Regions from separate parts of the Homo sapiens genome. Here all the other regions are linked to region 4. The links are contacts of gene promoters, found by promoter capture Hi-C in human tissues and cell types (Jung and others, 2019). All regions are on one chromosome and are shown on one strand. The core of a region is centred on a gene start or on the middle of the fragment in contact, and the rest is flanking DNA. Distances in the headings are between cores, read along the strand shown.

Region 1 (4,707 bases), core at 268-2,767, 1.1 Mb before region 4:
AGAGGAGGCGACTAAACTAGTACTCATTCACTACACTGTAACATTAAATATGCTTTGACCAAACTAGTAATTCCTTGAAGGTCAAAGATGGCGGCCATGCTAACACTTGTTGACTGATGGAACCAACCATGAGTTCTTCAACCCTAGACTGTTGGCAGATTTCTTTTTCAGAGCAGAATATGCTGACTTAGAGAATTAGATTTAATGCCTTTAATTCAATAGCAATTAGGTTTCTTACTATTAGGAACAGTCAGGCAAATCAACCATTACAGCCCACAAAAAAAGTACACAGTTGAGACACTGGCATCCACAAAGTTTCACATATTAAAAGTTGGAAACCTAGATGTTCAGTTCTTGTAACTCGAGTCAAAGGAATAAGCTTATTTTCTCTGAACTCTCCCTACAGTGTTATGTCTAAATGAGCCTTAAAGAGCTGTTTAAAAATAACTAGGAGGGCCAGATTCTGGGAGAAAAATACACAGAACTTATACATGAATCTGTTTCCCAAAATTGGCTGTTTAGTTTAGGCTGTGTTATTTCCTGCTCAAATTGGTTTCCTGCAATTTGTTAAGGCTGCCAAATACTTAGTGATCTCAGTGATATACTTAACACAAACTGGCAAATCTTTCTTATTTTTCACAATGACGAGAAATTTACAGAGAAACTTCTACAGTGAGGATGATAATAAAAGTTAGGTCATTTGTCTTGTTTTTTTCCAGATTCATCATTTTTATCTGGTTGCCAGTAGCTTACGAAAACAACAAAACATCTCCTAATATCATTTCCTGTCTGTTTCTTCATATTGATTTGGGGACAGATTCTTCAGCGGTAGGTAGGGTCAACCATGAGAGGTCTGACCTCATTATAAGCCAGAAAAACTAAAAGATCAGGTTGAAAGGAAACAATCAGCACCCAAAATTGATTTTTTAAAATCAAAAGATGCAAGATGTTAATGAAAAGGTAAGTTTATAACTATATGCAATGACATCTCCTTATGTCAGCCTAAGAAAAAAATTATCTGGTATAAAAGCAAACCAATATAGTTGAGATAACGCAGCAAAAAAATTGAGGCAGCAAGGACACAGTTAAGTTATTGAGAGCACATTCATTTATTAAAGTGGCATTACAATCTGCTGTGTGTCACACAGTATATTATTTTGCCCAAACAGCTTTACATGCGAATACTTACTGCAACGAGCCACTGATCTGGTTCAAGGTTTAGCAAAAAAATTATATTTTTTATGAAAAAAAAGTTTCAGTAAAGTCTTCAGAGGAACCCACTTTCTTATAGTATAAAATGTATTCTCAAAACTATTTTTATGACAAAATTGAGTTCCTATATACAGAAATCCTAGGGCTCTCAGTTCATCAAATACACTGCCCTATATTCACACATATGAATAGCCTAGGGCTGGTATGACTAAGAGTCCTGTGAGAAAGAAGGCTTTTTAATAAATACTTAAAATTTAACTCACATTTAATATATAATTTACTTCACACTGAAAAATGTAAAAAAGGCGAGTGACATTTTTATCAATACATTTTTGTAGGCTTGAAAAATTATTTCATAACACATCTAAATTTTAAATCCTAAGAAATCTATTATTGAGTACTAACTAAAACTCCTAAATGAGACAAACTCAGAACAAAACATAAATGTTCAAGCTTCATGCTTTTATAAGCCTATTTTTTTAATTCTAAGAAGAATAAATCTTTGTTAATTTACACATAGTTGAATTGCATTCTTAACCTAAAGCAAGATCATTTCAAAATAGCATGCCAAATTTTAGTTCTTTTCTTGGGTTAGGTTGGAAAGGGTGAGAGAAATCATGTACTCAAAGAACCTGTCCTATGAGCCTTGTTGAGTCTTTTTCACATCATGGTGCAGATAGAAAATAAAAAGCACTGGTGTGTTCCAGATCAGAGCTATGCAACAGAACTGTCTGCAATAATAGAAATGCCCTATATCTACACTTTCCAATATGGTAGTCAAAAGCCACATGCGGTTACTGAGCATAAAATGTGAAGAGTGCAACTTCAGAGCTAAAGTTTTCATTTGATCGACTTAATTTTCACTTAACTTTTAAGAGCCACATGTGACTAGTGGCTACCATTTGGAAAGTGTAGTTCTAGCCTGACCACTAAAACACAAGATGGCATACTTTTTTTTTTTTTTTTGAGATGGAGTCTCACTCTGTTGCCCAGGCTGAAGTGCAGTGGCACAATCTCGGCTTACTGCAACTTCCGCCTCCCAGGTTCAATCGATTCTCATGCCTCAGTATCCTGAGTAGCTGGGATTACAGGCATGTGCCACCACGCCCAGCTATTTTTTGTATTTTTAGTAGAGATAGGGATTCACCATGTTAGGCAGGCTGGTCTCAAACTCCTGACCTCAGGTGATCCTCCCACCTCAGCCTCTCAAAGTGATGGGATTACAGGCATGAGCCACCAAGCCTGGCCCACAAGATGGCATTCTAAGAGCTTTCAGTGCCCAGGCTGGTCACAGCTGGTCATGGACCAAAGAGTTCATCAGTCATTTCAAATGGGGAGTGAGAAGGGATGGGTCCCTCAGCAAAGCCAGAACTCTTCACATCAGTGGCATGCTCTTCGGGCCAGACACACCACAGGCACTCATAGAAAACCTCCCGACCCATCCCCACTCTCTCGAAATATCAAAACAACCCAAGAGAGAAAACATTTTCTCTCCTTCCACTCAGGCCAATATGGGAAAAAGCTAGAACAACCAACAATTACTTATAGACAACGGGTTCTTTCCTTAGTTCAAGCAGAACATCACTAAAAAGCAGCTCCTTCATTCCAACTAGTTTCTATCACGTCCTTTCTAAAGCAAGATGTCATTCAAATTAAAATAAGACAAAGTGGTTAACAGCATTTGCTCTGGAGTCAGACAAACTTGAATGTAACTCTCATCTCCATTGCTCACCAGCTGTGTGACTTTGGGCAAAATAATTAATCACTTCAAGTCTCAGTTTCTTTCTACATAAAATGGGTTATCACAGGTCCTTCTTCATAGGGTTATAAGGATGAAATGAGATAAGACGTACACAGGATTTAGCAGAGTACCTACAATGTAATAAATTTTAAGTGTCATCTATCATTACTTCAGTATATTGAATCATCATGATCATCACGCTAACTCCGTAACACAGGAGGTAGGAAAAAAAATCTACCTACAACAAATCATACTTTAGAACAAATTCCAATTTTAAATGTATCCATATATCATCATTCTTTTTTTAACACCAAGAAAATGTTTTAATTAAACTACAGAAACAATGGTTATAGCACAGAATATTCATAAGCAAAAAGATACACGTCATAAGTACTTACAAAGTTACAAACCATTTGCTCCCTTAACATTTTCCGTATTTTAAGTTCATACATGTAGATAAGAACAGATTCACCATTTTGAGGAAGAGGAGGAAGCAAAGGTATATTTATCATCAGCTAGATGTGCTCACTGTATGCAGTGGTATTTATATGCAAGACCCGAGTGACTGGAAGTGCAGTTGTTGGGCATTTTAATAAACTGGACAGCCATTTGTTTCTGCACGACAAGGCATCTTCTTAAGCCAAAATATTTGATAAACTTATTTTCAGTATCTCCTAGGTTTCTTTTATACTATGTTTCTACCTCCCTTACAGTCTTGTTATATATGTAGTTTATCTGTCAAAAAAAACTTTTTCCTATTTTTGCATCTTTTCAAAATACCTGGCTTGGCCGGGCACGGTGGCTCACGCCTGTAATCCCAGCACTTTGGGAGGTCGAGGCGGGCGGATCACGAGGTCAGGAGATTTAGACCATCCTGGCTAACACGGTGAAACCCCGTCTCTACTAAAAATATAAAAAATTAGCCGGGCGTGGTGGTGGGAGCCTGTAGTCCCAGCTACTCAGGAGACTGAGGCAGGAGAATGGCATGAACCCAGGAGGCGGAGCTTGCAGTGAGCCAAGATCACGCCACTGCACTCCAGCCTGGGAGACAGCGAGACTCCATCTCAAAAGAAAAAAAAAAATAAAAACGTGGCTTATTTATTTACATAATAGAAACATTCAATATATGTCACCTGAATTAAATGTATAGAACTCTCCAGAATGAACAAAAGTAGCTACTTTTAAAATGGATAATGCCCTTAAATTAATTCAACAAACGATAATAAGCACTTACTAAGAAGCAGGTTACACTATCCTAGGAGCTAAGAATTCAGCTGTGAACAAACAAATGAGGAATAAGGTCCCTGGAGCTTCTCTTCTAGTGAAGATAGCAGTCACAGTGAATAAGTAGAGGAAAGGTGATAGGAGATGATGAATAATGTGATGATGTTGGAAGGCAGAGAGGGACCAGTCATGATATATGATGGAAGCCCAGGGAAGCAGCTCAGACTATATTCTGTGTACCATGGAGAGCCACCACTGGGACATGACTTGACCTGATTTGCTTTTCTTCAAAAGATTGTGAGGACTTCTGTGTGCACAGCACAGGGGGAAAGAGTGAAGCAGGGAGCCAGTTAAGAGACTTCCACAGAAGACGACAGTTATCTATCTGGATTGGAGATATAGCAGAGGAGACAGATGCAAAAGGAACATATTTAGACATGTTTTAGAGATGGAGTTGACAAGACTAGCTAACAGTCTGATGTAAGGTGTAAGGAAAAAAGAAAACAAGGATGAATCCCCAATTGGGGACC
Region 2 (5,027 bases), core at 723-3,222, 1.4 Mb before region 4:
AGTCAGGATGGTCTCGATCTCCTGTCTGTCAGAAATCTTTACACAAACATGCACACTCGCACACACCCACATACATCTCTATACCCCATTCCAGAGGGAGCATTCACTTTCCCTGTAATGCTCTCCCACTGTGAGTCGTGATGGCCAGTAGAGATGATGTAATAATAATTTTATTGGATCAATATATCATTTAGAAAATAAAATCTCTCCCCTTCACTGGGTGATGACCATGAGGGGAAATGCCTGTGTCTGGTCAGTAATTTATGTCTGTCAAGCACAATGAATGGGATCTCTAGCTCAATGCACTTGTCTTTGTGTTTTACTGTATACTCTATGTTTCCAGCAGTGTCTGTAAAACATCCCTCTGAAGGGCTCTCCTTTGAGCAGGAGGCAGCTCCGTCCCCCCAAGAGGTTTAGATCCCAGTCAAGCAGGGAGCTGGCCTGGCCATGGCTTTTCATTTCTTTGTGCAGCAGATGACAAGGTCAGTTTCGTTAGGCCAGTGCTTGCGAAGACACTTCTTTGCCTTCCTTAGCAAGCATTAGGAGACCCATTTTACAGATAGGGAAAACAGGGGACTAAAAGGGTAGAGCTTTCCTGCAGCCCATAAGGTTAAAAAAAAAAAAAAAAAAGGTCTTCATTTTCAACAGTAATAAAACACTCTGTCCATGCCTCTCTACAACTTTGTGGCTGGGATCAGAGCAGGAGAAGGTGGGTAGGAAACCATATCACTTTGTCATGACAGCTTCATCCAAGTCCGGAGCACAGAGCAGCTCGGCTCTCTATCTCTTTCCAAGTCCTTTCTAATCCTATCATCACATTCTGACCCATGGCCTCCCCGCCTCCATCCCCTCTTCTCTCCTGAGCTGGCAAATCCTTTGGAGCTGGCACTTCTGTGCCATATTGCTTGGTACTGTGTTCGTGTGCCGCTTTGTTTTGGTTCAAGCCAGCTCCCTGCACAATGAAATTAGAATGCCTGGGTGCTGGAGAGGGGGTTGGGGGAGAAGAGCACAGGATTAATGGCAATATGCAGGGAGACATTTAATCAATCAGGGGCTTTCTGAAAAAAACAAAAAGACAAAAATGAGAAAATGAAGGAAACCATTATTTAGCGTGTGCTGGGCACTACATTCGACTACCAAAATACAGAAACAAAAACCGCAAAGGAAATTAATTTCGTTGAAGTGGTATTGACAATAAAATAGATGCTGTCTTGTTTTGATAAATTTATATATGGTATTGCTATTCCTCTGTCTGCTGACAGTGCTTGAGTCATTTCTCCTATAGTGGAGAGTGGGCTGAGCTAAACTTCTGCACTCTCATGGCAAACTCACTTCTGAACAGGGCATCCATTCATCTACCCATTCACCCACTCAGCTTTTGAGGGGAGGAAAGGGGATGGGCCACATGATTTATGTATTCAGGACCAAATCTTATAACTAAGAGACACATTTACTAGTGAATTATTTATTGACATCTGTGATTTTAGTATTAGGTTGATACAAAAGTAAGATATACTACAGATTACTTTGTATTAAACAATAGTTTGTTTGAGCCATATGTGCCTGGAACTATTCTGAACACAAGTGGTTCGAGGATAAATAAGATAGGAAGTCCTCGTCCTCCAGATATACGACTAACATTCGCAACACAGATCTCAGGGGTTGAGTTGATCACTTTGGCCCTGTTGACCCCGGCTGAGTCAACTACTCTAGAATGAAAATAAATGGTGGGGTTTTTAAAATTTGTTTTATTTTCGTTTTTATAAAGGGCATTCAAGCTTAGAAAAACAGGAAGGCACTCAATTTTTAAAAAGCAGGCCAGGTATGGTGGCTCACACCTGTAACCCCAACACTTCGGAAGCCCAAGGCAAGAGGATTGCTTAAGGTCAGGAATTCAAGATCAGCCTGGACAACTTCGCAAGACCCCACATCTACCAAAAAATTTTTTTCGTAATTAGCTGGTTGTGGTAGATAGGAACTCCTATCTATTCCTACCTTATCTGCATTCCTAGCTACTTGGGAAGCTGAGGCAGGAGGATTGCTTGAGCACAGGAGTTTGAGGCTGCAATGAGCTATGATCGCGCCACTGCACTCCAGCCTGGGCAACAGAGAGAGACCCTGTCTCAAAAAAATAAAAAAGCAAACCTAAATCCTGTTTTTTCCATCAACTTGCCTATCCCTCCTTCAATGTGAAAGCTAAACTCAAGGGCATATCAATCATCAGCTTTACCATCCAGTCATTTTCAGGATATTCTCAAGGCTACGACCCCACCCCCAGCCCTTTCTCCTGCCACGGCATATACCAGATACCTGAAATTTCACGGCTGGTCAAAGATGTACACAAATGGAAAGTTTGGTTATCTCAGAAGCCCCTTGCCCTGGGACCCTTACTAGAGAGCTCCTTCCCCAGGAGGGCAGAGGGTACTGGGTGAGGAGAACAGGCAGATGTTTGAGTTGAACTCACAGACATCCCTCTGTGAGTGTTAGTGAAGCTCTATGAAACACAGCCCTTAGATCTCCTGTCATTCAAGAAGGATTTTTGCTTCTATTATTGTTTACCCTCCAATCACCAGTACCTAGTACTATGCTTGCCACACAGTAGAAATTCAATAAATGGGCTCTTACAGTTTTAATTTTTTCTCAAAAGGATATGCATACAGAAACAAAGCAAATCATACACAAGTGCTGTGTTGTGCAAAGGGAGTGTGGAGGCATAAGCAGCTATTGCCAGGTTGTGTAAATATACAATAGGGGTTACTAATGGAACATTTACAAGCCAGAGAAGCAGCAGAGTGTATCTGCTCCCCTGAGCACTCATCATTCTCAAAGAGGTGGGCTTAGGCTGGGCCTGGCTGGACCAGGTGCTCCAAAGGCAGGAAATGACCCCAGGGCTATCCAGATTAGTCGCTCCTCCAGCTTCCATGCACAGCAGCGGTCTCTGCACTCTTGCCCACTTCACTTCCCACAGACAATTCCTAAATCCAATCCATTTTTAATTCTTTTTGTGATTATTACTTTTTTTTTTTTTTTTTTTTTTTTTTTAAGAAACAGGGTCTCTCACCCAGGCTGGAGTGCAGAGGAGCAATCACAACTCAGTGCAACCTCCACCTCCTTGGCTCAAGGGATCCTCCCGCCTCAACCTCCAAAGTAGCTGGGACTATCAGTGCACGTGACCACGCCTGGCTTCTTCTCTTAATGCTATCAAATTTTAATGAAAGCAACTATGCCATCCATGGAATGGCAAGCATTAAACTATAAGAGAGACATCAAAACTTTTACTGCAAGAACACAGGCAAATGTCTTGCTGTGGTCGGCTTCTGGGAAGGCTGAATCATACTGAGCTGTACCCTAGATCCCTGCACTCTCACAGCTTTATCCTCCTGTTTCCTGGGCGACCTGAAGGCCCTGGTCCTCCCCTGATACTTCCAGGCCTCTGTGGGCTGCGTGTGGAGCAAAAGGGCCACCAGAGAGAGTCTGGGACTCAGACACAGCATTAGCCAATATTTGCTGTTATCATTTTATTTTCTGAGCTTGTTGAGACTTCTTTCTGTTGACAGACCTACCCATCCAACTTTCTGGAGTACTTTTCTCACAGAAGACTTTGAAAGAAAGCTTTGAAAGAAGGAACTGGGCCAGGCACGGTGGCTCACACCTGTAATCCCACTACTTTGGGAGGCCGAAGCAGGTGGATCACAAGGTCCGGAGTTCGAGACCAGCCTGGCCAACATGGTGAAAACCCGTCTCCACTAAAAATACAAAAATTAGCCGGGCATGATGGTGCGCACCTGTAGTCCCAGCTACTCGGGAGGCTGAGGCAGCAGAATCGCTTGAACCTGAAAGGCGGAGCTTGCAGTGAGCCAAGATCGTACCACTGCACTCCAGCCTGGGTGACAGAGCGAGACTGTCTCAAAAAAAAAAAAAAAAAAAAGGTAGGAAAGAAGGAACTGGTTCTGTCTAACCCATTGTCCATATCTTCAGCCATCATCTGTAGAGGTTGTACTTCCAATATGTATGGCTCATGTTTCTGCATACATTGTAGAACGTTTCTTCTGTTTCTAGGTAGTGTATTTCCTCCTCCATTGATTTTCTCTGAAGTTTCATTACATGTTCTTGATGTATTTCAAGTTCCAGAGGAAGCTTCTGAATCTCACTTTGAAGCTGTGAATTTTCAGTCGGCAAAGATGCTTGCTCAGTTTGGAGACTTTGTTTGTCCTGGAAGCTCTTCATTCATTGGATTTTCTTCACATAATTTCTTGGATTTTTTTTTTTTTTTTTTTTTGCTTTTTCCCTTCAAATCTTCTAAAGAAAACATTTAAGTTAACAGCATCCAGGAGTCTCTTCAAATCAACTTGTAACTGATAGACCTGGTGATCTCCAGTTCTTTCTGCTTTCTTCTTTTTCTCTAATTTCAAGCTGCCATCAGCCATGTGGTCTCTAAAGAGACAGATACACCTACGATCTTCAGCAAGGTTTTCATCAGAGATGTTCACTGGCCCACTTTATCACCCATGACTTATTTCATTCCCCCCTTTGCGTTTTCAAGCAGGTTTTCTGTCCCTTCAGTTCCTTCATTCTTTGCTCCCATCTCACGGTTTTTTTGGCAAGCAGTTCTAGTCTTTCCTGAAGATGAGTGTTTTCATTCAAACTGTCCATCATTCTCTTCTGTTCTCCACTGTTCTAAAATGCTTGTAAGATGTTTTATGAATCAGTCACTTAGGATTGGAAGGATTTTGATGCATCTTTGAGTGACAGTGTCTGTCCGTGAAGTGAAAGTTCAGGGAGCTGGCTTTTCTGTCCTTTTCCAGAAAAGTCTACCATGTCCTCAGGTGAAGGCCTATTCTGATATTTACTCAGTGCTGCCAAATACAGAATTTGTAACTGCAAAAGACTGGCCTCCACCACAGGTGGCTTGAGGGCTTCATAGGCTTGTGTCATCAGCACCATCTTCTCACTGACTTTTCCACACACTTTAACCAAGTGGAACACCTCGCTCTTTTTCCCTCCTTAAAGTGTGTAGGCTGTTTACC
Region 3 (5,053 bases), core at 295-2,794, 1.3 Mb before region 4:
AATAATTTACCAGGTCATTTGAGCTTGTCTGTGGCACTGCCAGGGTCAAATCCAAGCAGCCGAGCTCCAGAGGTAATATGCTTAACAGCTACAGTACAGTGATTTGCAAATCACTGTATTAACGTACTGATTTCCAGATCACTGTATTGAATGCCTTATGAAAAGAGATCACCATCTATACAAAACAATTAGAAGGCTTTGTGTAGGAGGTGGCATTTAGCCTCTAATTGAATACTATTACCTTCCCTGAACCTACAATGAGATATTTAAAAGTTATTATATATTAAAAATTCTAATTATATATTTTACTTAGTGTAAGGGGGATGAGATTTAAGCCCATTTTAATTACAAACAAAAGCAGATCCACATGTCAGCTGTCTGTGATGCCTTTGTGGATATCCAGACACTTGTTCTTAAATCTGTATATTACAAACTGAAACAACAACAACAAAACCAGAAGAAAAGTAACACAGGAAAAATTGGCTAACAAGTCAATGAACCTGTGACTTTACTGATACAGCAATTATAAAGGTCAAAGCTTATTTTCACCCTATGTAAATTAAATTTAAATGAACTCCTAAACTATATATTACAAGATCCAGAATTAAATTTAGATTAGCCAGAGACTTTGTTTGTAGAAGACGCTCTTAATAATCTTTGGCTTTTGTCCAGCCCAGATTCCCACTTCCTCTAAAGATGATGGAGAACTGCTTCCCTGGATAAATTAGCACAACTCCTGCCTCCTTCCCCTTCAGTCCCTGTGGAGGAATTCCACTGGACTCTTGTCTTCCCTTAAGAAGTAACCCCCAGTTCAGACCTCAGGGCTGTTCAAGGTCCACTTTTCTCCTTGACCTACACTTGGTCTCTTAGCGAAGCTCTTCCAGTCTCATGGCTTTAAACTCCCCTCATGGGCTGACAACTCCCAGATCTATATACCCAGCCCAGACCTTGCCTCTGATTCCATACTCAATGGTCCAAATGTTTTATTGAAATCAATTGTATCAGAAACACCTAAAATTTAAATTGATTAAAACACAGGGCTCGGCTCGGTGGCTTACGCCTGTAATCCCAGCATTTTGGGAAGTCAGTGAGGCAGATTGCTTGGGCCCGGGAGTTCAAGACCAGCCTAGGTAACATGGCAAAACCATGTCTACACAAAAAAATACAAAAAATTAGCCAGGGGTGATGGCGCGCATCTGTAGTCCCAGCTACTCTGGAGGCTGAGGCAAGAAGATCAATTGAGCCCAGGAGGTTGTGGCGAGCCAAAATTGTGCCACTGCACTCCAGTCTGGGTGATGGAGTGAGACTCGATCTCAAAAATAAACAGATTTTTTTTTATAGATAGATAGATAGAGAGAGAGAGAAAGAGAGAGAGAGAGAGAGAACACAATCCCACATTGTTTTTTGTTTGTTTCAATGAACAAACTTATTCCTCTTGGTCTTCCTAGACTCAGTAACTGGTTCTATCTTTCACACATTTGCTGAAGCCAGAGATACAGGAATCATCTTTCTTTCTTACACCATCTTATATCCAGTCCAGCACATCAGACAATCCCCATGTTCAGGCCTTATTGGCTTCCTTTCTTCTTTAACAGGCATGTAATGGGTTTGGATTTTATTCTAACGGCTATGGAAAAGCATGGACGGTTTTCAGCAAAGAAACGATATAATCTGACTCAAGCTTTTTTTTTTTGAGACAGAGTCTCACTCTGTTGCCCAGGCTGGTGGGCAGTGACGCAATCTCAGCTCATTGCAACCTCCACCTCCTGGGTTCAAGAGATTCTCCTGCCTCGGCCTCCCAAATAGATGCGATTACAGGTGCATGCCACACCTGGCTAATTTTTGTATTTTTAGTAGAGACAAGGTTTCACCATGTTGCCTGGGCTGGTCTCAAACTCCTGACCTCAAGTGATCCACCCGCCTCAGCCTCCCAAAGTGCTGGGAATACAGGCGTGAGCCACCACTCCCGGCCCAGACTCAAGTTCTTAAAAAACCATAGCTCTTGGCTGGAAAATAGACAGTGGTGGAGGGAACAGAAGATGGACTAGACAGACAAGGGAGTGATTACAAGAGTTCAGCTAAGAGAGATGGAGGCTTGGTTTATGGTGGTAATAGACTTAAAAAACAGACAAAATTGAACTATGTTTTGGAAGTAGAATCAACAGAACTTCCTGATGAATTGGAGAGGAAGGAGGGAATGTGAGGAAAAGTGAGAACCAAAAATGTGTCGTAGATTGTGAGCTTCAGCCACTGAGTAGGTAATGGTGCCATTTCCCGAGGAAAACTGGAGGAAGACTGGTGGCTGGAGCACTCAGGACCGCTACCTCTGCTATTCTTTGGAGTGTGAGTGTGTGCTTCCTAAGTGTTTCGTCGTTAGATCACCTCATCTGAAAACCCCTCTCCTATTTTCTCTCACTGTATTCATGTTTCTTTCATCACACTTTTCATGATCTATTTTGGCTCATTTTGTTCTCTGTATTGTATTCCACTCGCTAGACTCTGAGCTCTGTGATGGTGGGAAACAGGTTCTCCTTGTTTGTTGCTTTTTCCTGTGTCCCCAGCCCATGTCTTGGAACATAGTTGGATATGTCCACAATCAATTATCCTCAGGAACTTCTAGGGGAAAAAAGATGTCTAAAGCAGGAGGTGACAAACTTTTGCCATAAAAGGCCAGAGAGTAAATATTTGAAGCTTTATGGGTCACATGGTCTCTGTCAAAGCTACTCAACTCTGTTGTAGTACGAAAGTAGCCACGGACAATACACACATAAATGAGCATGGCTGTCTTCCAATAAAACTATTTATGGACACTAAAATTTGAATTTCATAGAATTGTTGTGTCATAAAATTATTCTTTTGAATTTTTTCCCCAACCATTTAAAAATGTATAAATTATTATCAGTTTGCTGATGCCTGGTCTATCCAAATTTTAAGCCTCAGGTGTCAAGGAATAGAAAGGTAAGAAAATGTTAAACTGGATGATTAGTATAAATTGTATTAAAGAACTTATACTACCATAAAATAATCCCTATATTCCTTCCCACTAACCTACTGTACCTTAAGAAAAAGGAATCATGTCTATGAATCTTGAAATCCAGCACTTAATGTTTGCTGATGGATGGATGGATGGATGGATGGATGGATGGATGGATGGATGAAATGAAGGAAGGAAGGAGGGAAGAAAGAAAGGAGGGAAAGAAGAAACGAATGAAATAAGGCAAGGGAGGGGAGGGAAAGAAGGGAGAGGAACAGAGAGAGAGAGATGGAGAAATGAGGGGAGAGAAAGAGGGAGGAAATACTTTTATTTTACAACCACCATATCACTGGAATAGGAAAACTGAATACAGGCATACTTTGGAGATACTGCAGGTTTGGTTTCACACTATCACAATAAAGTGAGTCATGCAAACTTTTTGGTTTCCCAGTGCGTATAAAAGTCATGTTTATAATACACTGTAGTCTGTTAAGCGTGCAATAGCATTATGTCAAAAAAAGTACATAATCTTAATTTAAAAATACTTTATCACTAAAAAATGCTAACAATCATCTGAGCCTTCAGCAAGTCACACTGGTGGAGGGTCTTATCTCGATATTGATGGCTGCGGTGGTGGCCAAATGGCATGGCTATGACAATTTCTTAAATAAGACAACAATGAAGTTTGCCACATCAATTCATTCTCAGGGGAGAGTTTTCAGTAGCATGTGATGCTGTTTAATAGCATTTACATAGAGTAAAACTTCTTTCAAAATTCAAAATTATCTCAAACTCTGCTGCTGCTTTACCAATTAAGTTCATGTATTATAATATTCTTAGTTCTTTCCTGTCATTTCAGCAATATTCACATCATCTTTACCAACAGTAGACTCTATCTCAAGAAACCACTTTCTTTGCTCATCATCTGTTCAAGTTTGCTCCTCAAACATTAAAAGTTTCATCATGAGATTGCTGCAATTCAGTTCCATCTTTGGGCTCCACTTCTAATTCGAGTTCTGTTGCTATTTCCACCACATCTGCAACTCCTTCCTCCACTGAAGTGTTGAACCCTTTCAAGCCATCCATAATTGGAATTAACTTCTTCCAAACTCCTGTTAACTGATATTTTGACCTCTTCCCATGAATCACGAATGTTCTTAATGGCATCTAGAATGGTAACTCTTGCCCGGAAGGTTTTCAATGTACTTTTCCCAGATCATTCAAGAGAAATCACTATCTATGGCAGATATGGCCTTATAATACGTATTTCTTAAATAGTAAGACTTGAGGGTCAAAATTACTCCTTGATCCACAGGCTGTAGAATGGACATTAGCAGGCATGAAATTATTAATCTCCCTGTACATCTCCATCAGAGCTCTTGGGTGACTAGGTGCACTGTCAATGAGCAGTAATACTTTAAATGGAAAATGTTTTTTGTGAGAGGTAGATCTCAACAGTAGGCTTAAAATATTCAGTAAACCAGGCTGTAAACAGACGTGCTACCATCCAGGCTTTGGTGTTCCATTTATAGCACACGGGCAGAGTTGACTTAGCATAATTCTGCAGGACCCTAGGATTTTTGGAATGGTAAGTGGGCACTGGCTTCAACTTCAAGTCATCAGCTGCATTAGCACCTAACAAGAGTCAGCCTGTCCTTTGGGGCTTTGAAGCCAGGCCCTGACTTCTCCTCTCTAGCTAAGAAAAGTTCTAGACAGAATCTTCTTCCGATAGAAGGCTGTTTCACCTTCATTGAAAATCTGTTGTTCAGTGTAGTCACCTTCATCAATGACAGTAGGCAGATTTTCTGGATACCTTGCTCCAGCTTCCACATCAGCACCTAGTGCTTTATCTTGCATTTTTATGTTATGGAGATGGCTGCTTTCCATAAACCTCATGATCAACCTGTGATAGCTTCCAATGCTTCCTCTGAAGCTTCCTTGCCTCTTTCAGCCTTCGTAGAACTTAAGAAAATTAGGGTCTTACTCTAGATTAGGCTGTGGCTTAAGGGAATGTTGTGGCTGGTCTGATATTCCACCAAACCACGAATCTTTCTCCACAGCAGTAATAAAGCTGTTTCA
Region 4 (2,569 bases), core at 70-2,569:
AAAACGATCGAGATTTGCATTTTTACACTTTCTGCCTGATTCTTCCCTATGTCACTTAGCCGAAGCCAGGCCCTACGAGGGTAAGGGTGGGGAAAATTCCCTTGGAGGAATCTCTACTTATTGGAAAAAGAAATAAGCAAAAAGCAAGATGAGCCTGGCAGAAAGAGATATTTTGCTTGTGGCCTTTACATTTATGACTAGCAAGATAATGAAGGAAGGTAATTCTGAAAGCTTTATGTCAGTTTTAACGGTCCCTCAAGCACTGAGAAAGATAATCGTCAATGGATGGTGTCCATAAGGATTTTTTCTCCTTCTCCCCTGACAGCCATTGACAGGATCATTTTGTATTTGCAACTGCTGTCATTGAAGCGTGCAGAAAAGGCCCTGTAAGGCCAGAAGGATGAGGGCTACTTCCCTGCAAGGATCTCTATTGTCATCACTATGGCAATAATAGTTACTATAATTTTCATTCTGCTTTTCTATAGAGTGTCGACGTTGTGGAGCTTAAGGCTATGGGATTTGGGTCACATAAAATCACACTAGCATAAAATCGTGCTTTGTTATCTTGAAAGAGTATTTTTTTTAACTGCAAAGAGAGCCTGTGCAACAAGATTAAAATAATTGCCAATGCAGGTCACTTGACTAATATAATTATTTATGGGATGCTAATAGCTTTTCAGACGCTTTCAGATACAGTGTCAATTTGACAGCAGTTTTTTCTCTCTCTGTTTGGATTGTAAGACCACTGCCAGTTTTTCTCCCCAAGGACAAGGCTTATCATTGGGGGGTGGGGGTGGGGAATGTAAATTAATTGGAAATCAGCTCTCAGGCGTCGTCTGGTAGTTTCTCTTTATTATCTGCAATTAAATCATAAGGACAGGAACCATGCCTTCTATTTCACTTATATGCACCCTCATCTCCTAGCGTCGCGCTTTGCATAAATTTCAGTGGTACTAGCTTTCCTACAGACTGCTTTAGAGACATTAGACACTTCTAAAGTACGACTCTGCGGAAAGAGCCCTTTGGGAATGAAGCGGCAACGGTGGCGCACCTGCGATCCTATCGTGGGATGACAAAGCTCTAAGAGGGGTCTCAGGGTAGGGAGGAAACAGCTGGAGACAAAGAAAGGGGGTGTAGCGAAAAGAGGTGAAAACAGGAAAGATAAGCGAACAGAACAGACCAAAGAGAGAAAAATAACAGAAGAGACTGAGAAAAAGAAAAGTCAAGTGGAGCGCCCACTGCCCCGCCTGCAGAAGGCGAGTACGCGCGGAGGAGACTACAGGCCCCAGAATCCTCCGCGGTTCCCCTTGCCTGGGGTCAGTCTCCTAGGCAACCCCGCTAAACAAGATGGCGACCTCCGAGAGGGCTCTCCTGAGGACCAGAGCTGCCTCTCTCCTGAGAGGCTTGGGCAGATCCCGAACTGGAGCCCGATCGTTACAGTTTCGCGCAGAAAAAGAGCGTCAGCCTTGCTGGTCTTTTCCCATGGGGCAGAAGACGAAAGGCAGCTCTAACATAGCCTCCTCCTACCTGCTCCAGCAGCTCATGCACCGCTATCAGGAGCTGGACTCGGACGGAGATGAGGACCAGGGCGAGGGCGAGGCGGGATCCGAGGAGTCCTCAGAGTCCGAAATGCTGAATTTGGAGGTGTGTCTTCCCCCCCACCCCGTACTCCCTGGCTCCCTCGTCCAGCCCTGTTACTTCAGCGGCAGCTCCCCGATGCACCCCCACCAGCCCGAAGCTTCCCACACCTTCTCAGGCTCTCTCGCCTCCAGGAACGCCTCTTCCCCCTCTTTTCTTCCCCTGTCTTTTACCCCGTTTTCTCACCCCCTGCCTGAAATAGCTCTAAATAGTTCCTTTCTTTTTTCATTAACACATTTGATTTCTTATGAGTCGAGTTAACACAGCGTCACTTTGTAAGAGTGTCTAGATAATTGTCTGGGAATTATGGCTTTAGCTTTTTCAAAATTATACTTTGACAGTATTGTGAATAGGCAGAGTTCATCTCTGACATTGCCAGCACCTGTTGCCCATGGCTATGACATACTTCCACACTCTTCCTCAGTTCTAGTCCCGTCAGCCTCCCTCCAGGAAAAAAAAAAAAAAAAAAATCCGCTTTTGAAAGTGCTTCTTCAAAGACTAAGTGACTTAAAAGTTGAATACATTACTTCTGTCGGGGGCATATGCCTTATACAAGCAACATGCACACACACCAGAAAAGAGCCTTATAATGTTCGAACAGCCAGCTCATTGTGGGAATATTTTAGGATGTGGGGAATGTTCCCATCATCCCACCCATATTGACTGGGATGGCGGCTTCGCGTTTCACATGACTGCCATTCCCTCCTTTCTACAATATCTCTTCTGACCACCACACAATTCCTCTTCTTTCTTATGCTTATTATGGTCCTTTTCCTTTCTTAGTCCATTGTTGTCTTCTTGTCCTTTTCCACTTCTCATCACATCACTTCTTTTCTCTTGGCTTCTAATAAATTGCTTTCTTTCAAAAGCGTAATTTAATTTGCTTCCTTTCTATTTTGTTTATGTTTTTGAGATGGAGTCTGGCTTTGTC
Region 5 (4,739 bases), core at 1,389-3,888, 1.1 Mb before region 4:
ATAAGCAACAGAAAAGAGATTAAGCAGTTTGGTTTTTCCAGCTTTATTAAGGTATAATTGACAAATAGAATCATATATATTCAAGGTGAACTATGTGATGATTTGATATGAATCATGTAATGATTACCACAAATATATCGAGCACCACACAGTTACCATTGGGGTGGGGAACATTGGGGACACTTAAAATTTGTTCTCTTATGAAATTTCAAGTAAAAAATATTATTAACTAAAGTCACCATCTTATAACTGAAAGCTTGTACTCTTTGATCAACATCTCCCTATTTCCCCATCCCACATCCCCTGGTAATCACTCTTTTACTCTGCTTCCTAGAGCTCAACTTTTTTAGATTCCACATATAGGTAAGAACATACAGTATTTGTCTTTCTGTGTCTGGCTTATTTCACTTGGCACAATGTCATATCTTCATAGTGCACTTTATGCCTATAACATAGGGATGTCTTCCTACCAGAGGAAAAGCTCAAATCAGCAGCGAGCTGTTTATTCCAGTGTGATCAAACGGTGACCAGCTGGGTGGATAGGCACGAAGCCATCCAGGTGAGAATGTGGAGAGGAAGTGGTTTGGGGTGAAGAAAATGCAGACTGGAGGCTTGCTGTTTCCTTCTCTATCCCCTTCTCCCTACTATCATCAGCCCTGCCACTTGCTGTGGGGTGAGGTGAGAAAGAGATACAGATTACAGGTGGCATCGTCCAGGTAGGCCATGAGAGGAGAGAAAAACGTGGGAAGAGGACAACAACAGCAATGAAAGGGACAGGAACACTCCCATGGCCACTGAAAAAGACATGTCCAAGTGACCAGCTGGTTGACATCACTTTTGGTCCATAAAGGAGCCAAAGCACAGCTATCTTTCTAATGCCCTACCTATTTCCAGAAAAGGAAAAAAAAAAAAAATCACAACTTTTGGGTCAAGTCCAAGGTCACAACTGAAAAAGTAATTACCTTAGCTACAAATGAGAAGTTAAAATAACAGAAAATAAAAACATGACCTAGCATAAAGAGTTTGAAATCTAAAATAGCAAATCAAAGCACAGCCAGGAAAATAAACCAGTGAGGTAATGGGTTCTGAGCACATCTAAGCTTCATGGTATTTGTTTTTAAATCAATAGAATACATAAAGCAATACTGTATTTCTTCTGATAGGTCTGACCCAAAGTGCATGAGGGAAAAAGATACAGCATTTGGAGACCACTATTTAAAATGGCCTTTCTGAAAACACTCTTTTCAGCTCCCAGGATCTGAACATTTTCTCAAATAAAACTGTTATTAAACTAAAAGGTCAGTGTTTCAGGAAGGGCTAGTTTAAGAGAAGCACAAGAAAGGCCAACTTTGCCTATTAGCACAGTGAGTTTCCAAGCAAATCTTTGGGAACTGGCAAAGTTTGTGAAATGAGAAAAGGAGTAAAAACAAAAAAATGTTCAAGCAATATAAATCCCATTTGCCATGGAAATTTGCAAAACTATTTCAAGTTCAGTAAGTATGGTTCCATGGCTTTTATATACACACATACTCTCCTTTTAGAAATGTGTTAAGACAAAAGAATGTTTTCTTTCCATACTTGTATAGTCTGTACTTTTTAAAATTCTTCTCAGAAACCATTTTAATTTCTTTCTCAATGGTGAATGTATCTTAAAGAACACAAACACTGGCATTTTGTCAATTAGTTATAGATATAAACACTGATCATAAAACATGTCAGAAAAAGCCAAGCATTGCAATTGCTTAGTTCTAGCAAGTGTGGCTCTAAACCATTTACTTGAAACCATTACTGAAAATAATAAATACTTGGATGATTGAAAGCAGCTCTGGATTCCTAACAAATTTTTGTTTGTCTTTACTAAACAATATTCTAAACAAATGCTTTGGCTAGTCCAAGGGTCTTCTTTAAGGTTTGCCTAGGAATCTTTTGACCCACTTAGCCACCAAAATTTCTGGGCTATAAATTTGAGTTCAGGATCAAATAAGAAAGTCCAAGATTCCTAAACTTATACTTGATCCTGAGTATTCTTAGGAAATGTGAGGAAATTCTTATTCCTCAAAGAAAGTGTAACATAAGTTCAATACACATCACCTGTCTTCTATGTGACAGGTGATGCTCAAATTCCTGTGTTTACCGAAACTGGTTAAACTAAAGATATGAAGGGAGGGAATGGTACGGGGAGACATAATTATACATTTTAGATAGATCCTTGAATGGTGAATAGAAATGACTCCAAAAGATGGAAGGACTTGATGAACTCATCAACCATGAAAAACAGAAGACTGAAAATGCAACCATGATCTGAAATATACATAGATTCCCTGAACCTCAAGGAACATACTAATTTCCTTTGTAACTTTTCCCACTTGTAATTCCCTTTTACTTCATTTTTTTTTTGCATAATCCTTACACTATAATTCCCTCCCCAATTACAGTATTTCTTAAACAATCTCTTTAAGTTGCTTAATAAAAGTTATACCTTGCTTCTTAGAGAAATATCAGTTCCTTTGGGATTTTTCCTTTAATGTATTTTTCTTTCTGGTTTCACCATTTGCTGATATAGGTCATGGCCAATTTTGTAAAGTCTATTATTTTCATGTGCTAGTTTAAACACACTAAAGAGAAACCATGAAGATCTTCCAAGAGAACAAAATAAATATATGTACCTGCATAATATAAGCAGCAGATTTCAGATAAAGACTCTGATTCTCCCAGGATTGAGATAGTTGAGCAAAAAGTTATACCATAAGATATAGCCAAATTAAATTTTCAGCTCAATAGAAATACTCATTAATCTTATAATTTCAATAAATTCATTAAAATGAAGAGCAATTATTGTTTAAGAAAATAATAATCAAAGCATCCATGCAATCAATGAAATACAACACCAAGTATATTAGAGCTAAATGACTAACAGCATAGGTTACAGGATAAATCTTGTCCTGCTCCTTATCTTCTAAAAGCTACAGGGTTTGATTGGAAGAAGAGCCAAAAGATGACTAGGATAAATCTCAAGAGTTAGAAATAAACATGTTTATTATCCATTTGTGGCACCATTTAGTTGGCAGACAAATAAACCTGATTTAAACCAGGCACACAGAGAATATAGGTATATTCAGCTGACAGTTACCTTCACCATCCTATAAGGAGAATGTATCTTAAGAGTGCCTTCAAAACAAATGGCATCTGTCTACTACCTGGCAGGGGTAACTGTGGCTACTTACGCATTAAAGTTAATGAAGATGGTAGAATGAAAGTTCTGCACTGCACATTCATAATCATAAATACTGTACCAGAAGGCAGTGTTAGGAAGAGTTTGGCAACCTGAACATCAACAGCATCAAGTTAATGGCTTATTTTGTAGCATTATCACTCCATCAGGATGTATATACCTTTGTAAATTTCTCATCTGAATGGCATATTACGCAAATAATGTTCATTTTATTGTTTGCTTCACAATAAGCACCCATAGAAACTAGCTCCATGTTCCATTCCATGTAGGAAAGAAAACATCAATACTGGGCTATAGCCGTATAGCAAGAGATAAGCTCGTAATTCATATTCTACAGTTTAGACATCTTAAGTAGACAATTCCTAAAACCCGTATTGAGAATCAGATATATCTAGTATTTCATGTCTTAATATTCTGAATAATAGTTGCAAGATCTCACACAGCCTCCAGGAAAATAAGATCTATAATTTAAATTAAAAAATAATAATTACCTTTGGATATTGCTTTCTGATACATAGCTTAATTTTTTTGTTTCAAAAATGATTATATTTTGTTCACTGGAGATAAAACTATAATACAGTGTTAACTCTCCAAACTAAATGAAGTACAGAAACCACCCAAGCTCTTTTCCATTTCACGCAAATGGTCCTGTGTGACCAAGAAAAGTAATCAATATAATGCCCTAAGTGTAATATTTAAATAAAACAAGCTAATTTATAATAAAATAATGGCATCTCATTATGTAAACGTTCAAACATAACTACCCTAGCAGACATAATAAAACAGTCTGAATCTTGAGTTTGTGTGCTAAATCATCACAAATGCAAAAGCTATTGTTACACAGTAGTTTCACTCTTGGAAAATTCAGTATACTTTAAAACCATGCAAAACATACTTTCTGTTTATATATAAAACAACTAAGTTCTCAGCCAGGTAAATAGGTTTTCAGCTCCATGAATCTCTGATGGGACATTCAGAAGTTAGAGGGCACAGGACAATTCTTGGAGATGGGAAACTACCCCCAGGCACTGCTAGCCATGAAGATCCCTCCCCGTGCCACTAAACACCACAGCTTCCCTCAAATTCCTAAAGTGCCTGAAGTGGTGCCGTACTCCTCAAGTGGGGTACTACTCAAACACTTTCTAAAGTGGTACAGTATTGCCCCACCACTGCGCACCATTGTTTTAGACAGGGCTAAAATATTCACCCTGATAAATGAAAAAAAGTGGGAAATCTAGCTATTTTATGGTTTGTATGACCACAGATAGATAGTCACAAATAATCTACTAATATTTATATGGATTTTTCAAACAGATAAACATTTGGATGACACCAAAATATCTTTCCCCAACATGATCTCTGCCTTAAGGTGCCCAAACATGACTAGCTTTCTCTAGCTCCATACTCACCAAAACCACATTTTGCCCGGTCCACTTATAAAGATCATCTTAATTTTCCTTAGGGTAATCAAAATTACTCTCTGCTAATCATCACATTGTCTATTTTT

Evidence for each region. Contacts are between HindIII fragments. The study calls those that stand out against the background at their distance.
Region 1: a contact is called between a fragment that was not itself captured here and the fragment with the promoter of LRGUK in region 4, in 1 of the 25 tissues and cell types used here (dorsolateral prefrontal cortex).
Region 2: a fragment that was not itself captured here is called in contact with the fragment with the promoter of LRGUK in region 4 in 1 of the 25 tissues and cell types used here (dorsolateral prefrontal cortex).
Region 3: a contact is called between a fragment that was not itself captured here and the fragment with the promoter of LRGUK in region 4, in 1 of the 25 tissues and cell types used here (dorsolateral prefrontal cortex).
Region 5: a fragment that was not itself captured here is called in contact with the fragment with the promoter of LRGUK in region 4 in 1 of the 25 tissues and cell types used here (spleen).

Annotation. Positions count from the first base shown.
Region 1 is chr7:133,064,095-133,068,801 of GRCh38, forward strand. The region is part of intron 2 of CHCHD3 (coiled-coil-helix-coiled-coil-helix domain containing 3); the gene reads right to left. Among named protein-coding and RNA genes, the nearest start is that of CHCHD3, 16 kb to the right of the region's middle. The HindIII fragment of the contact is 3,742 bases long and covers 1-3,388 here.
Region 2 is chr7:132,712,769-132,717,795 of GRCh38, forward strand. The region is part of intron 3 of FLJ40288 (Putative uncharacterized protein FLJ40288); the gene reads left to right. Among named protein-coding and RNA genes, the nearest start is that of FLJ40288, 66 kb to the left of the region's middle. The HindIII fragment of the contact is 3,804 bases long and covers 71-3,874 here.
Region 3 is chr7:132,858,952-132,864,004 of GRCh38, forward strand. All of the region lies in intron 5 of CHCHD3 (coiled-coil-helix-coiled-coil-helix domain containing 3), which reads right to left. Among named protein-coding and RNA genes, the nearest start is that of MIR3654, 170 kb to the right of the region's middle. The HindIII fragment of the contact is 4,510 bases long and covers 1-3,799 here.
Region 4 is chr7:134,126,021-134,128,589 of GRCh38, forward strand. It overlaps LRGUK (leucine rich repeats and guanylate kinase domain containing), which reads left to right and starts at 1,320. Exons shown (of 20, transcript NM_144648.3): 1 at 1,320-1,644. The coding sequence starts at 1,348. RefSeq lists enhancers at 1,173-1,222, 1,333-1,602. The HindIII fragment of the contact is 8,230 bases long and covers 1-2,569 here.
Region 5 is chr7:133,029,113-133,033,851 of GRCh38, forward strand. All of the region lies in intron 2 of CHCHD3 (coiled-coil-helix-coiled-coil-helix domain containing 3), which reads right to left. Among named protein-coding and RNA genes, the nearest start is that of MIR3654, 3.4 kb to the right of the region's middle. The HindIII fragment of the contact is 3,921 bases long and covers 679-4,599 here.